Linked DNA regions of Homo sapiens: regions 2 and 3 are each linked to region 1. The links are contacts of gene promoters, found by promoter capture Hi-C in human tissues and cell types (Jung and others, 2019). All regions are on one chromosome and are shown on one strand. The core of a region is centred on a gene start or on the middle of the fragment in contact, and the rest is flanking DNA. Distances in the headings are between cores, read along the strand shown.

The links. Contacts are between HindIII fragments. The study calls those that stand out against the background at their distance.
Region 2: a contact is called between a fragment that was not itself captured here and the fragment with the promoter of ANAPC7 in region 1, in 2 of the 25 tissues and cell types used here (dorsolateral prefrontal cortex and heart left ventricle).
Region 3: a fragment that was not itself captured here is called in contact with the fragment with the promoter of ANAPC7 in region 1 in 1 of the 25 tissues and cell types used here (dorsolateral prefrontal cortex).

Annotation. Positions count from the first base shown.
Region 1 is chr12:110,401,779-110,405,915 of GRCh38, forward strand. ANAPC7 (anaphase promoting complex subunit 7) reads right to left here and starts at 1,930. Exons shown (of 11, transcript NM_016238.3): 1 at 1,749-1,930. The coding sequence starts at 1,849. The HindIII fragment of the contact is 28,063 bases long and covers 1-4,137 here.
Region 2 is chr12:110,057,749-110,061,885 of GRCh38, forward strand. It overlaps a transcript of C12orf76 not described here. Among named protein-coding and RNA genes, the nearest start is that of C12orf76, 11 kb to the left of the region's middle. The HindIII fragment of the contact is 4,989 bases long and covers 1-4,137 here.
Region 3 is chr12:110,130,815-110,134,951 of GRCh38, forward strand. IFT81 (intraflagellar transport 81) reads left to right here. Exons shown (of 19, transcript NM_014055.4): 5 at 1,733-1,822; 6 at 4,134-4,137. Among named protein-coding and RNA genes, the nearest start is that of IFT81, 8.5 kb to the left of the region's middle. The HindIII fragment of the contact is 5,126 bases long and covers 1-3,813 here.

The DNA.
Region 1 (4,137 bases), core at 680-3,179:
ATCGAGACCATCGTGAAACCCTGTCTCTACTAAAAATACAAAAAAATTAGCTGGGTGCGGTGGCGGGCGCCTGTAGTCCCAGCTACTCGGGAGGCTGAGGCAGGATAATGGCGTGAACCCAGAAGGCGAAGCTTGCAGTGAGCCAAGATCGTGCAGAGCGAGACTCCGTCTCAAAAAAAAAAAAAAAAAAAAAAAAAGACCAGACTGGTCAATATAGTGAAACTCTGTTTCTACTAAAATAACAAAAATTAGCTGGGCGTGTGGCGCTCGCCTGTAATCCCAGCTACTTGGTTGGCTGAGGCAGGAGGATCGCTTGAACCCAGGAAGCGGAGGCTGCAGTGAGCCAAGACTGCGCCACTCAACTCCAGCATGGGCGACAGAGCGAGGCTGTCTCAAAAAAATAAAAATAAATAAACAAATAAAAACAAATAACAGAATAGCCAGGGAGGCTAGAGAGCAGTGAACAGAGTAATGAGATGAAGTCGCAGAGAGTGGAGGGCAGATATTTGCCTTCAGAGGCCATGGGAAAGAATTTTCATAAGTGCAATAAAGGATTTTTTTTTTTTTTTGAGACGGAGTCTCGCTCTGTCGTCCAGGCTGGAGTGCAGTGGTGCTACTTCGGCTCACTGCAAGCTCCGCCTCCCGGGTTCACGTTATTCTTCTGCCTCAGCCTCCCGAGTAGCTGGGACTACAGGCGCCCGCCACCACGCCTGGCTAAATTTTTTTGGTATTTTTTAAGCAGAGACGGGGTTACACTGTGTTAGCCAGGATGATCTCGATCTCCTGACCTCGTGATCCGCCCGCCTCGGCCTCCCAAAGTGCTGGGATTACAGGCATGAGCCACTACGCCCGGCCAATAAAGGATATTAAGCAGGAGAGGGACATGCACTCAAGGATGGAATCAGCTCAGTGCTTCAAGGAAACATGAAAGGCGCCACGCCCACCCATTAATGGAGTCTCCCGTTTCCTTTTTTTGAGACAGGCAGTCGTTCTGTCGCCCACGGTAAAGGACAATGATGCGATCACGGCTCACTGCAGCCTCGACCTCCTGGGTTCAAGCGATCCTCCTGCCTCAGCCTCCCGAGTAGCTGGGACCGCAGGCACGCACCATCACGCCCGGCTAATTGTTTAATTTTTACTTTTCGTAGAGGCAGGGTCTCCCTATGTTGCCCAGGTTGGTCTTGAACTCCTGGGCTCAAGCGATCCTCCCGCCTCGGCCTCCCAAAGGGCTCGTATTAGAGGCGTGAGCCACCGCGCCCGGCCCCGTTTTCAGGGGTTTCCCAAGGCCAGAAAGTGGACCCTCCTGATACACTTAACGGGGGGACCAATCTCAGATGCGGGGGCTAGCGCATAAAAACCAGGAGGCTGGGTCCCTGAGCTGCAGCGAGAGAAAAAAACGTTCTTCTGGAAGGAGCCGAGAGGGAAGGATTCAGCCTAGCGATGTGACAGTCGCGCTGCCCCGCGACAGGTGCCTCAGGAAACCCTCGCCTGGGTCGTCCTCAGAGCCTCTGCCTTCTATGTCTCCAAGCCGCCGCTCGCCACATCCCCGCGGGACTTGACGCCGGCACCCAGTGAACCCAACTTGCGCTCCGAAGTCTGCTCCGCTCCAGGACGCCCTCGCAGACCCCGGAGCCTCCGCTGGCGCCGGCGGCCGCTCCTTCCCGCCTGTTCCCACGTGCCCTGAGCCCCCGCTCCCAGACCGCCGCCGCTTTCTCCTCAGCCCCAGGCAGCTACCCGCCTCAACTCACGGGTTGTTATTACTCATTGTAAGTAACAAGCTGCTGAGGAGCCGCACGTTGGAGTGCAGCCCCGCGGCCGCCATGTCCCGCACGTGGTCTATCACATTCATCCTGCTCTGCAAAGCCGCGGGCAGCGGCGGCAGCACTGACTCGAAAAGCCGGTAGAGGATCCTTAGGGAAGACTCCAAAATGGCGGCGTCGCCGGGGTCCATCGGGTCCACACGCGGCACCACCCCCAAGCAAGAGGTAACTACTGAAGTGCCCGAATAAAAAGAAACTCGAGTCCCTGCTCCTGTCGTGGTCCTTTTCAGGTGAAATGAGTTGTTATTTTTACGCAAAAATCACGTTATCATCCTAAACTGCAAACTTTACTGAGGATTTACAATGAGACAAAAGGCACCTTATAAGACTACTCGGTCAATTTGAATGAGTCTGAGAGGAATTTGTGCCTCTCAGAAATTAAAATGTGTGGGTATTTACCGAAATAAAATACAGTAAGGTGAGGAAAAACGCTCCAACTGGAATTAAATATTCTAATCGGGCGCCAGGGACAGACCTAACGGCCTTTACAGTGGCGCATGCGCACCAGGCTAGGGCCGCCGCGCCCCTCCTCAGGTGTTTTGTGTTCCTGCCAAGTCAGGCTTCGGCCCTGGGGGAACTCCTTGGTTCGAGGGGTATATTTCCCCATGTAAAATTATTCCCTAGATCCGTGGAAATAAAGGCTGGATCCAGGAATTAGCTGATACCCATATAAACCAGTATGTGTCTGGCACACTTAACGTTTTAGGAAAGTTTTACACAAGTTATTGGGACGCTCACAACAATCCATAAAGTTGAAGTTGTCATTCCCTTCCCACAAGGGAAGAAACTGCCTGCTTAAATTTTGTGCTCAGGTTGTTAAATGGTTGACTTGGAATCAGATCGACTGGTTAATTATGTTGGATCGCAAACTCAAATGTATACAGGGACCAGGGAGGTAACTGAGCCAATGAGGCAGTTTAGGTCGTTGAGTCAGAGTCCGAATATTCTCCACAGTCATCCTCTCAGATCTAGCCTATCGCTCCTTTCTTAAAGGAGACAGTCGTTTTGGTCTAGATTTTGTTTTCATTTGATTTTTACAGTAGTAGATGCAAAAAAAATGCTCTGAAAAAATCACAGTGTATCTTCATCAGCAACTTTTTCAGCTCTTAACATTTTGTCACAGTTGAAGCTCCTGTAGATCCTTTTCCCATCTCATCCCCTACTCTAGTTTCCTGGATGTGTGAGACCTTCTATTTGATTTTGGTGGGCATCATCACTGTGAACTTTTCTTTTTTCTTTTTTTCGAGACGGAGTTTTGCTCTTGTCGCCCAGGCTGGAGTGCAAAATCTCAGCTCACTGCAACCTCTGTCACCCGGGTTCAAGGAATTCTCCCTGCCTCAGCTTCCCGAGTAGCTGGGATTACAGGCGCCTGCCACCACTGTCATGTGCGTCCGTGTGAAGAGACCACCAAACAGGCTTTGTGTGAGCAACAAGGCTGTTTGTTTCACCTGGGTGCAGGCAGGATGGTAGCAGCACGAGCCATAGGCAAAACTCCTCAGACACCAAGTTAAAGAAGGAAGGAGTATATTCGGCTGGGAGCATCAGCAAGGCTCCTGTCTCAAGAGCCGAGCTCCCCGAGTGAGCAATTCCTGTCCCTTTTAAGGGCTCACAATTCTAAGGGGGTCCGCGTGAGAGAGTCGTGATCGATTGAGTAAGCAGGGGGTACATGACATGCACCGGTGGTCAGAGTGAAACAGACCGGGAAGTTTCACAATGTCTTTCTATAATCTGTAGATAACATCAGTTGCTAGGTCAGGGGTCAGTTAAGGCAGGAACCGGCCCTTTTCACTTCTTTTGTGATTCTTCAGTTACTTCAGGCCATCTGGATGTACACATGCAGGCTTGGGTTCAGAGGCCTGACATTCCTGTCTTCTTACGTTAACAAGAAGAATAAAACGAAATAGTCGTAAAGTGTTGCGGCAGCGAAAATTTTTGGGGGTGGTATGGAGAGATAATGGGCGATGTTTTTCAGGGCTGCTTCAAGTGGGATTGGGGGTGGTGTGTGGGAACCTAGAGTGGGAGAGATTAAGCTGAAAGAAGATTTTGTGGTAAGGGACAATATTGTGGGGTTGTTAAAAGGAGCATTTGTCGTATAGAATGATTGGTGATGGCCTGGATGCAGTTTTGTATGAATTGAGAAACTAAATGAAAGACACAAGGTCTGAATTAAGAGAAGGAGAAAAACAGGTATTAAATAACTAAGAATTGGGAGGACCCAGGACATCCAATTAGAGAGTGCTCAAGGGGGTTCAGCATAATTACCTGCTTGGTTGGTGAGTTTTGGGGCTCTATCCTTGACAGAGTCCTTTTTAAGTTG
Region 2 (4,137 bases), core at 620-3,119, 340 kb before region 1:
GGGCTAAAAAGAAAAAATATAAATTAAGATCCCAGCTGGGCGCAGTGACTCACGCCTGTAATCCCAGCACTTTGGGAGGCCAAGGCAGGTGGATAACTCGAGGTCAGGAGTTTGAGACCAGCTTGCCCAACATGGCAAAACCCCGTCTTTACTAAAAATACAAAAATTAGCCAGGCACAGTGGTGGGCGCCTATAATCCCAGCTACTCGGGAGGCTGAGGTGGGAGAATCATTTGAACCCATGAGGCGGGGATTGCAGTGAGCCAAGATCACGCCATTGCAAACTCCAGCCTGAGCAACAGAGAGAGACTCGGTCTCAAAAAAAAAAAAAAAAAAAAAAAAAGAAGATCCCAGCACAAATCACTCAGGCAATCATTGTTGAAACTTTTGAGTGTCTTCTAGATATCTCTTTATGTCCACACCTAGACACACAAACAGATATACTGATGTTACAAACGTGGCCACACTACAGGCTGCAGGCTGTTTTGTAACTTGCTATTTTTACTCAATAATATGTTATTAATTCTTTCTATGACAGTAAAGATATCTGTGATAAAGATAGATCTATGATACACAATCATTTTCAGTGGCTAAAGAGTATCCTAGTGATTGAATATATGAAACTGCCCATTTTGGCAGGTCATGGTGCCTCACGCCTGTAATCCCAGCACTTTGGGAGGCCAAGGCGGGCAGATCACTTGAGGCCAGGAGTTCAAGACCAGGCTGGCCAACATGGCGGAAACCCTGTCTCTACTAAAAATGCAAAAATTATCCAGTTGTGGTGGTGCATGCTTGTAATCCCAGCTACTTGGGAGGCTGAGGCAGGAGAATCACTTGAACCTGGAAGGCGGAGGTTGCAGTGAGCCGAGATCATGCCACTGCACTGCACTTCAGCCTGGGCAACAGAGTGAGACTCTCTCTCCAAAAAAAAGAAAAGAAAGAAAGAACTGCCCATTTTGTAGGCCATAGCTATAGAATACAGGCAGTTCCATATGGCTCAAGCTAAGAGGTACATTGTGATAATTTGCCAGTCAGTCTCTGGGATAGATATTTAACTGTAACTTTTGTTCAATTTTCCCAATTATAAACAATTTTTGGTAACCCTAATATGTCCTTACCATGTGCCAACCACTCTTCTAAGTCTATTTTGCTGACATATATTAACTTTTGCAATTCTTACTCCCCCCCACCAAAAAAATGAAAACAAAAACCAACTCTATAAGGAAGGTGCTAGTATTACCTCCACCTAATAGCCGAACAAACTGTGGTATGAATGAAGCGAGAAGCTTGTCCAAGGTCACATGGTAAACAGCAGCGCCAGCTCTGAACGCAGCCATCTGGCTCCACAGCCTCAGCTCTCTTAAATGCTATGGTAAATGGAATTATTTTTCCAATTTCCTTTTCAAATGTTCCTTGCTGGTGTAAAAAAAAATGCACACACACAATTAATTTTTGTGTGTTGATCTTGTTCCTTGCGACTTTACTGAATTGGTTAATTAGCTCTATCTAATAGTTTTCTTGTGAATTCTTCGGGATTCTCCATATATGGGATTGTGCCATCTGTGATTAAAGATAGTTTTACTTCATTCTTTGCCATCTGGATGCCTTTTATTGCTTTTCTTGTCTAATTGCTCTGGCTAGAACTTCCAGTACAATGTTGAACAGCAGCGGTGAAAGCGGGCATCCTCGTCCTGTTCCTGATCTCAGGAAGAATGCACTCAGGCTATGCTCCTAACAACTGTGCTCACTGTCTGTCCACCCCACATTCATGTTGCCAGAAATCCCTGCACAAGCTTCTTCACACACCTAAGGCATTAAGTCTATACAGGACTTCTGGGTCAAAGGGTGTGCACATTTTCTATCTGAGTTTATTTTCCTAAATCATAAATGCTTGAACCATTTCATGCTTCCATCACCAAAGCAAGAGTGTGTACACTGCCTCTTAAGAGGGGCTTGACAAACAAGCGGTGTGAACTTGGTTGAGACAGTTGAGGGTCTGGTCGCCAGGCTGAGAGCACATGGCCTGTAGGATGGAGGCTGTGAGTTTGAAGAAGAGGAGAGACATAGTAGCAGTGTGCAGCCATTTGAAGAGGGACACAAGGCAAAACTAAGCAAAGGTGAAAGTTACAGGGGGAAAGATTTTGGCTCATTTTCTCAGGAAGAAAAGTGACAGGGCAGTCCCAGAGCAGAACAAGCTTTCCTTGTGGTTACTGCTGGTGATGGTGAGGAAGATGATGAAGATAATTTTCATTTACCACATCAACTTCCCTTTCTCTCCTGTCCCCTTTCCATCTGCACTTAACATCATTTCTCTACTAAAAATACAAAATTAGCCAGGCATGGTGGCACATGCCTGTATTCCCAGCTACTCAGAAAGCTGAGGCAGGAGAATAGCTTGAACCCCAGAGGCGGAGGTTGCGGTGAGCCGAGATCACCCCATTACACTCCAGCCTGTGCAACAAGAGTGAAACTCTGTCTCCAAAATACCCCCTCTTCAATCCCACATTCTCTTACCACCACTCCATGCCTCTCTTCTTCATAGCCAAGTCCCCTGAAAGAGTGAGTCATCATATCCATTTCTGCATCTCCATTCACTCCTCCGCCCACTCCAGTCTGGCTCCCACCCCCATCCCTTCTCTAAAGCCTCTCTTGCCAAGTAAACAACAACGTCATTGTCACTAAATCCAATAGACACACCACATAGCTGATCTTCCTGGAACTCTCAGCACCAGTTGACACTGTGACCATGCCCCACCTCCCTCACCTCCTTCCCTTAGCTTGCAGGAATCCACCTTTGCCTGACTTTCATTGGATCTCTGTGGCTACTCCTTCTCAGAATCCTTTGGGGACTTCAGCACTCCCACCCCTTAAAGGTTAGCCCTTCTCCGGGGTCGGTTCTAGGCCCTCTTGCTTTCTCATCTACTTCTTCTCTTGCTGGTGAATTGCAGCTTCTTCCATGGTTCTAGTTCCCATCTATATGCTGGTGATATAGAAACCTACATCTCAGGCCAGGCGCAGTGGTTCATGCCTGAAATCCCAGCACTTTGGGAGGCTGAGGTGGGCGGATCACCTGAGGCCAGGAGTTCAAGACCAGCCTGCCCAACATGGTGAAACCCAATCTCTACTAAAAATACAAAATTAGCCAGGTGTGGTGGCGGGCACCTGTAATCCCAGCTACTCAGGAGGCTGAGACAGGAGAATCACTTGAGCCCGGGAGGCGGAGGATGCAGTGAGCTAAGATCGCACAACTGCCCTCATATCCCTTAGCTCATTGCAATAGAGGAAGAGTAATTCATGCAGAGCCAGCTCTGTGGGGGAGACCAGAGACTCTGACTCAAAAAAAAAAAAAAAAAAGAAACCTACATCTCAGCTCCAGATTCATATATCCAACCACCTATTCAACATCTACATGCATATGTTCCATGAACACTTCGAACTCAATGCCTTCAGTTCTGACCTCATCTTCCACCCCAAATTGGCTCTTTCTCCTGCATTTCCTATCCCAGCAAGTTATTCCAGCACCTATCAGTTGTCCAAGCCAGAAACATGGCACACTCCTTGACTCATTCTCTCCCTCTTTCCCCCTCACCCATTCAGTTGCCAAATCCTACTGTTTTACCTTTCTAATATTGCTCGAAGTCATCTACTTCTCTCCTCTGCCTCTACTACCTCCTCAGTCCAGGTCACCATCAGCTTTCCTATCTGGACAACCCAATGGTCTCCTAAATGGTCTCCTTTCCTCCAGTCTTACCCTGTCCCCTCCACTCTCTATACTGCACACTGCATACTTTTTTTTTTTTTTTTCTTGAAACGGAGTCTTACTCTGTCACCCAGGCTGGAGTGCAGCAGCAAGATCTTGGCTCACCGCAACCTCTGCTGCCTGTGTTCAAGTGATTCTCCTGCCTCAGCCTCCTGAGTAGCTGGGATTACAGGCATCTGCCCCCACGCTCAGCTAATTTTTGTAGTTTTTAGTAGAGATGGGGTTTCACCATCTTGGCCAGGCTGGCCTTGAACTCCTGACCTCGTGATCCACCCGCCTCAGCCTCCCAAAGTGCTGGGATTACAGGTGTGAGCCACCACTCCCAGCCTACACTGCATACTTTAATGAGAGCATGGACTATGGTGTGAGATGCTTAGG
Region 3 (4,137 bases), core at 1-2,500, 270 kb before region 1:
TATACACACACACAATGATTTACAATATATAATGATTTACACATTTAGCCAGTCATTTCAGGAATCCTAATAAAAATACATATTATCTTTTGGAATGAAGGGTCTTATAATTAATAATTTGTAGATTTAAGATATGATCAATCAAGAAAAATATTATTCTGTCATTCCCCATCAAAATAACTTTTTGGCCAGGCACAGTGTCTCATGCCTTTAATCCTAGCACTTTGGGAGGCCAAGGTGGGCAGATTGCTTGAGCTCAGGAGTTCGAGACCAGCCTGGGCAACATGGTGAAACCCATCTCTACAAAAGATAAAAAAATTAGCCCAGCATGGTGACGTAAGCTTGTAGTCCCAATTACTTGGGAAGCTGAGGTGGGAGGATCACCTAAGCCCAGGGAGGTCGAGGCTGCAATGAGCTGTGATCGCACCACTGCACTCCAGCCAGGGTGACAGAGTGAAACCCTGTCTCAAAAACAACAAAAAAAAACTATTTTAAAAAATTTTTAGGTAACAGGATTTTTTTCATTCATTCAATTACTTTTTTTTTGTTTGAGACAGAGTCTCGCTTTGTCACCCAGGCTGGAGTGCAGTGGTGTGATCTCGGCTCACTGCAACCTCCACTTCCCAGGTTCAAGCAATTCTCCTGCCTCAAGCTCCTGAGTAGCTGGGATTATAGGTGTGCGCCACTGTGCCCAGCTAATTTTTTGTATTTTTAGTAGAGACAGGGTTTCACCATGTTGGCCAGGCTGGTCTCGAACTCCTGACCTCAAGTGATCCATCTGCCTCAGCATCCCAAAGTGCTAGGATTACAGGTGTGAGCCACCTCACCTGGCCCATTCAACTACTTTATATTAAACACCTCCATGGGTTATGCACTGTGCTAGGCCCTAGGGATACAAGGGTGTACACAATGAATATGATTCTTTTCCTCTTGGCTCTCACTATATGATGGAGGGAGACAGACAGAAAATTATAATAGTCAGTTATAATTGTACATGATATCTACTCTGATAGGATAGATAAAGGGCCAGAGAAGGCTTCTCTGAGAATAGTAGAATCTATGTGAAGACTTGAAGGATGAAAAGGAGTTGCTTAAGTTATGGGTGAGGGAGTCATAGATGTATAAGCTGGACGTGAGAGCATGGAATGTTCAGGAACTCAGACATCAACATAGCTAGTGTAGAGTGTGAAGCAGGAAAGTAACCAGAAATGAAGATAGAGAAGTATTTAGTGTTAAGATGGTAGAGATGTACTTTTTTGTACCCTATATAAATGTATAAGGATGTGTTTTTGTGTTTTTAATGCTGTTCTTACAATGACTTAAGTAATCGCTGTAAGTTAATAGATAACCTGATTAAGAAAACTCTATGGCTAGGCGCGGTGGCTCACGCCTGTAATCCCAGCACTTTGGGAGGCCAAAGCGGATGGATCATGAGGTCAGGAGTTCGAGACCAGCCTGAACATGGTGAAACCCCGTCTCTACTAAAAATACAAAAATTAGCCGGGCGTGGTGGCGCGCGCATGTAATCCCAGGTACTCAGGAGGCTGACGCAGGAGAATCGCTTGAATCTGGGAGGCGGAAGTTGTAGTGAGCCGAGATCGTGCCACTGCACTCCAGGCTGGGCGACAGAGCAAGAGTCTGTCTCAAAAAAAAAAAAAAAAGAAAGAAAGAAAGAAAGAAAACTCTACTGGATCTAGTTATTAGTTTATAATTTCTTAACTTATTCTTCTAGTATGAAGAGTTAATGGAAGCCTTTAAAACTTTGCATAAAGAATATGAGCAGCTCAAGATATCTGGATTTTCTACAGCAGAAATAAGAAAGGTAAAGGAAAGAAAACATAGTAACAATTTTTTTGGGATTTGAATAATATTGGATTTAGCATTTTATTAATTCAGTATGAGTCTTAAGACTATATGGAGACTAGTGATAGCAAATGGCACATTTTACTTTGTGGGGGGACCTTTGGTAGTTCCTTACTGATGAAATTGATGAGACTGGGGTAAATTCACGATGAGTAGTTACTTACAGTACGGAAGAAGAGTGATATATGTCCATCTACTATTCCTCCATTATGTCCTGTAAGTAAACCAGAATAATGACAAGAACCTAGAGTCTATATTTTAATTTATTCATTATTACTAAAGCTTTCTCTCTCTTTTTTTTTTTTTTTTTTGAGACAGGGTCTCACTCTGTCATTCAGACTGGAGTACAGTGGTGTGATCACAGCTCACTACAGTCTCGACATCCCAGGTTCAAATGATCCACATGCCTGAGCCTCCTGAGTAGCTGGGACTACAGGCATGCGCCACCATGCCCAGCTAATTTTTGTATTTTTTTGTAGAGACGGGATTTTGCCATGTTGCCCGGGTTGGTCTTGACCTCCTGGGCTCAAGCTATCCTCCCACCTTGGCCTCTCAAAGTACTGGGATTATAGGCATGAGCCACTGCTGCACCTAGCCTTTATTTCTTGTTTAATCATATTTTCTAAATTTTCTACAAAGCATATGTTCAAGAATACTTTAGTAGGCCAGGCATGGTAGCTCATGCCTGTAATCCAAACACTTTGGGTGGCCGAGGCTGGAGGATCATTTGAGCCCAAGAGTTTGAGACCAGCCTGGGCATGATGGCAAGATTCTGTCTCCAGAAAAAAAAAAAAAAACAAATTAGCCAGGCATGGTGGTGCACGCCTGTAGTCCCAGCTACTCAGGAAGCTGAGGCAGGAGGATCACTTGAGCCTGGGAGTTCAAGGCTGCAGTGAGCTATGATCATACCACTGCACTCTAGCTGGGTGACAGAGTGAGAACTTGTCTCAAAAAAAAAGAAAAGAAAAAATAATTCACTCATAATCTCGTTCTCCAGAGACAACTATGGTTGACATTTTGATAAATATATTTAAATCTTTTTCTTGGTATTCTGTAGATAAATGTTGTAATCCGCCTCTTTCAATTAATGTCATTTCATGACTTTTTCTCATGTCATTAAACATTCTTCTGCATGATTTTTAATGACTTTCATTGTATTATGTGGTGATTTATTTAACAATCCTCATACATTTTGGTCATTTCCAAATTGTAGATGTAACTTGCATTAATGAGAATCTTTACAGAGGATGTCTTTTCATGAATGTTTTATTCGGACAAATCATCAGATATAAAATTACTGGGCTAGAAGGGATGAACATTTATTTTAAGATTTTTTTTTTTGAGACGGAGTCTCACTCTGTCACCCAGGGTGGAGTGCAATGGCGCAATCTTGGCTCACTGCAACCTCCACCTCCTGGGTTCAAGCGATTCTCCTGCCTCAGCCTCCCAAGTAGCTGGGATTACAGGCACTTGCCACCACGCCTGGCTAGTTTTGTATTTTTAGTAGAGACAAAATTTCAACATGTTGGCCAGGCTATATTTTAAGACTTTTGATATTGTTCTTCAGTACAGTGCTATCGGTAATGAGTAAGAGTGCCCATTTTTCCAAATTCTGTCAATACTGACTACCGTGTATATTTTACCTTTACTATTACTGCGATATTTAAGCTATTAGTTTTTTAGATTTAGGAAGGAGTTTTTTTATTTGTTTGTTTTTATAACAAAATACTATGAAGCTGGTTAACAGGAAGGAAGTTTATTTTTGAAGTCTTTATTTTCAGAGACGGAATTGGTTCATTGGAAAAACCAGGTACAAACTTATGTCATGAAAATACCATAGCCTTAAAAATAATTTTGATGGAAAATTGGCAAAATATATGGCTTGGTATTTAACAGAACAGATGGGATGTCAGCAGCTGTTGTTCATGTATTTAGACCTGCACACTTTCCATTATAGAAAATTTTTCAAAAATCATGTGCCCATATTTGGAATCAGAACACAAATGTGCTGGTTGGCAGCTTTACCTTGCTGCATTATAACTGGTTTTTGTTGCATTTCTGGATGAACACCAAGCTGCCAAAAAAATTACCCTGCATAAGAAGCCCTGGGGGAAAAATAGAAATGACCTTCATCCAAAAGAGGATCTTGGTTGTTAATGCTGTGGTTATAAATGATGAAAATGTTAGATGCATAATCAAAATAAAACCTTATCTGTTTCCTACAGACTGAGAATACTTTTTCTTATAAGGTCTTCTTTGCCACTTTTTAGGATA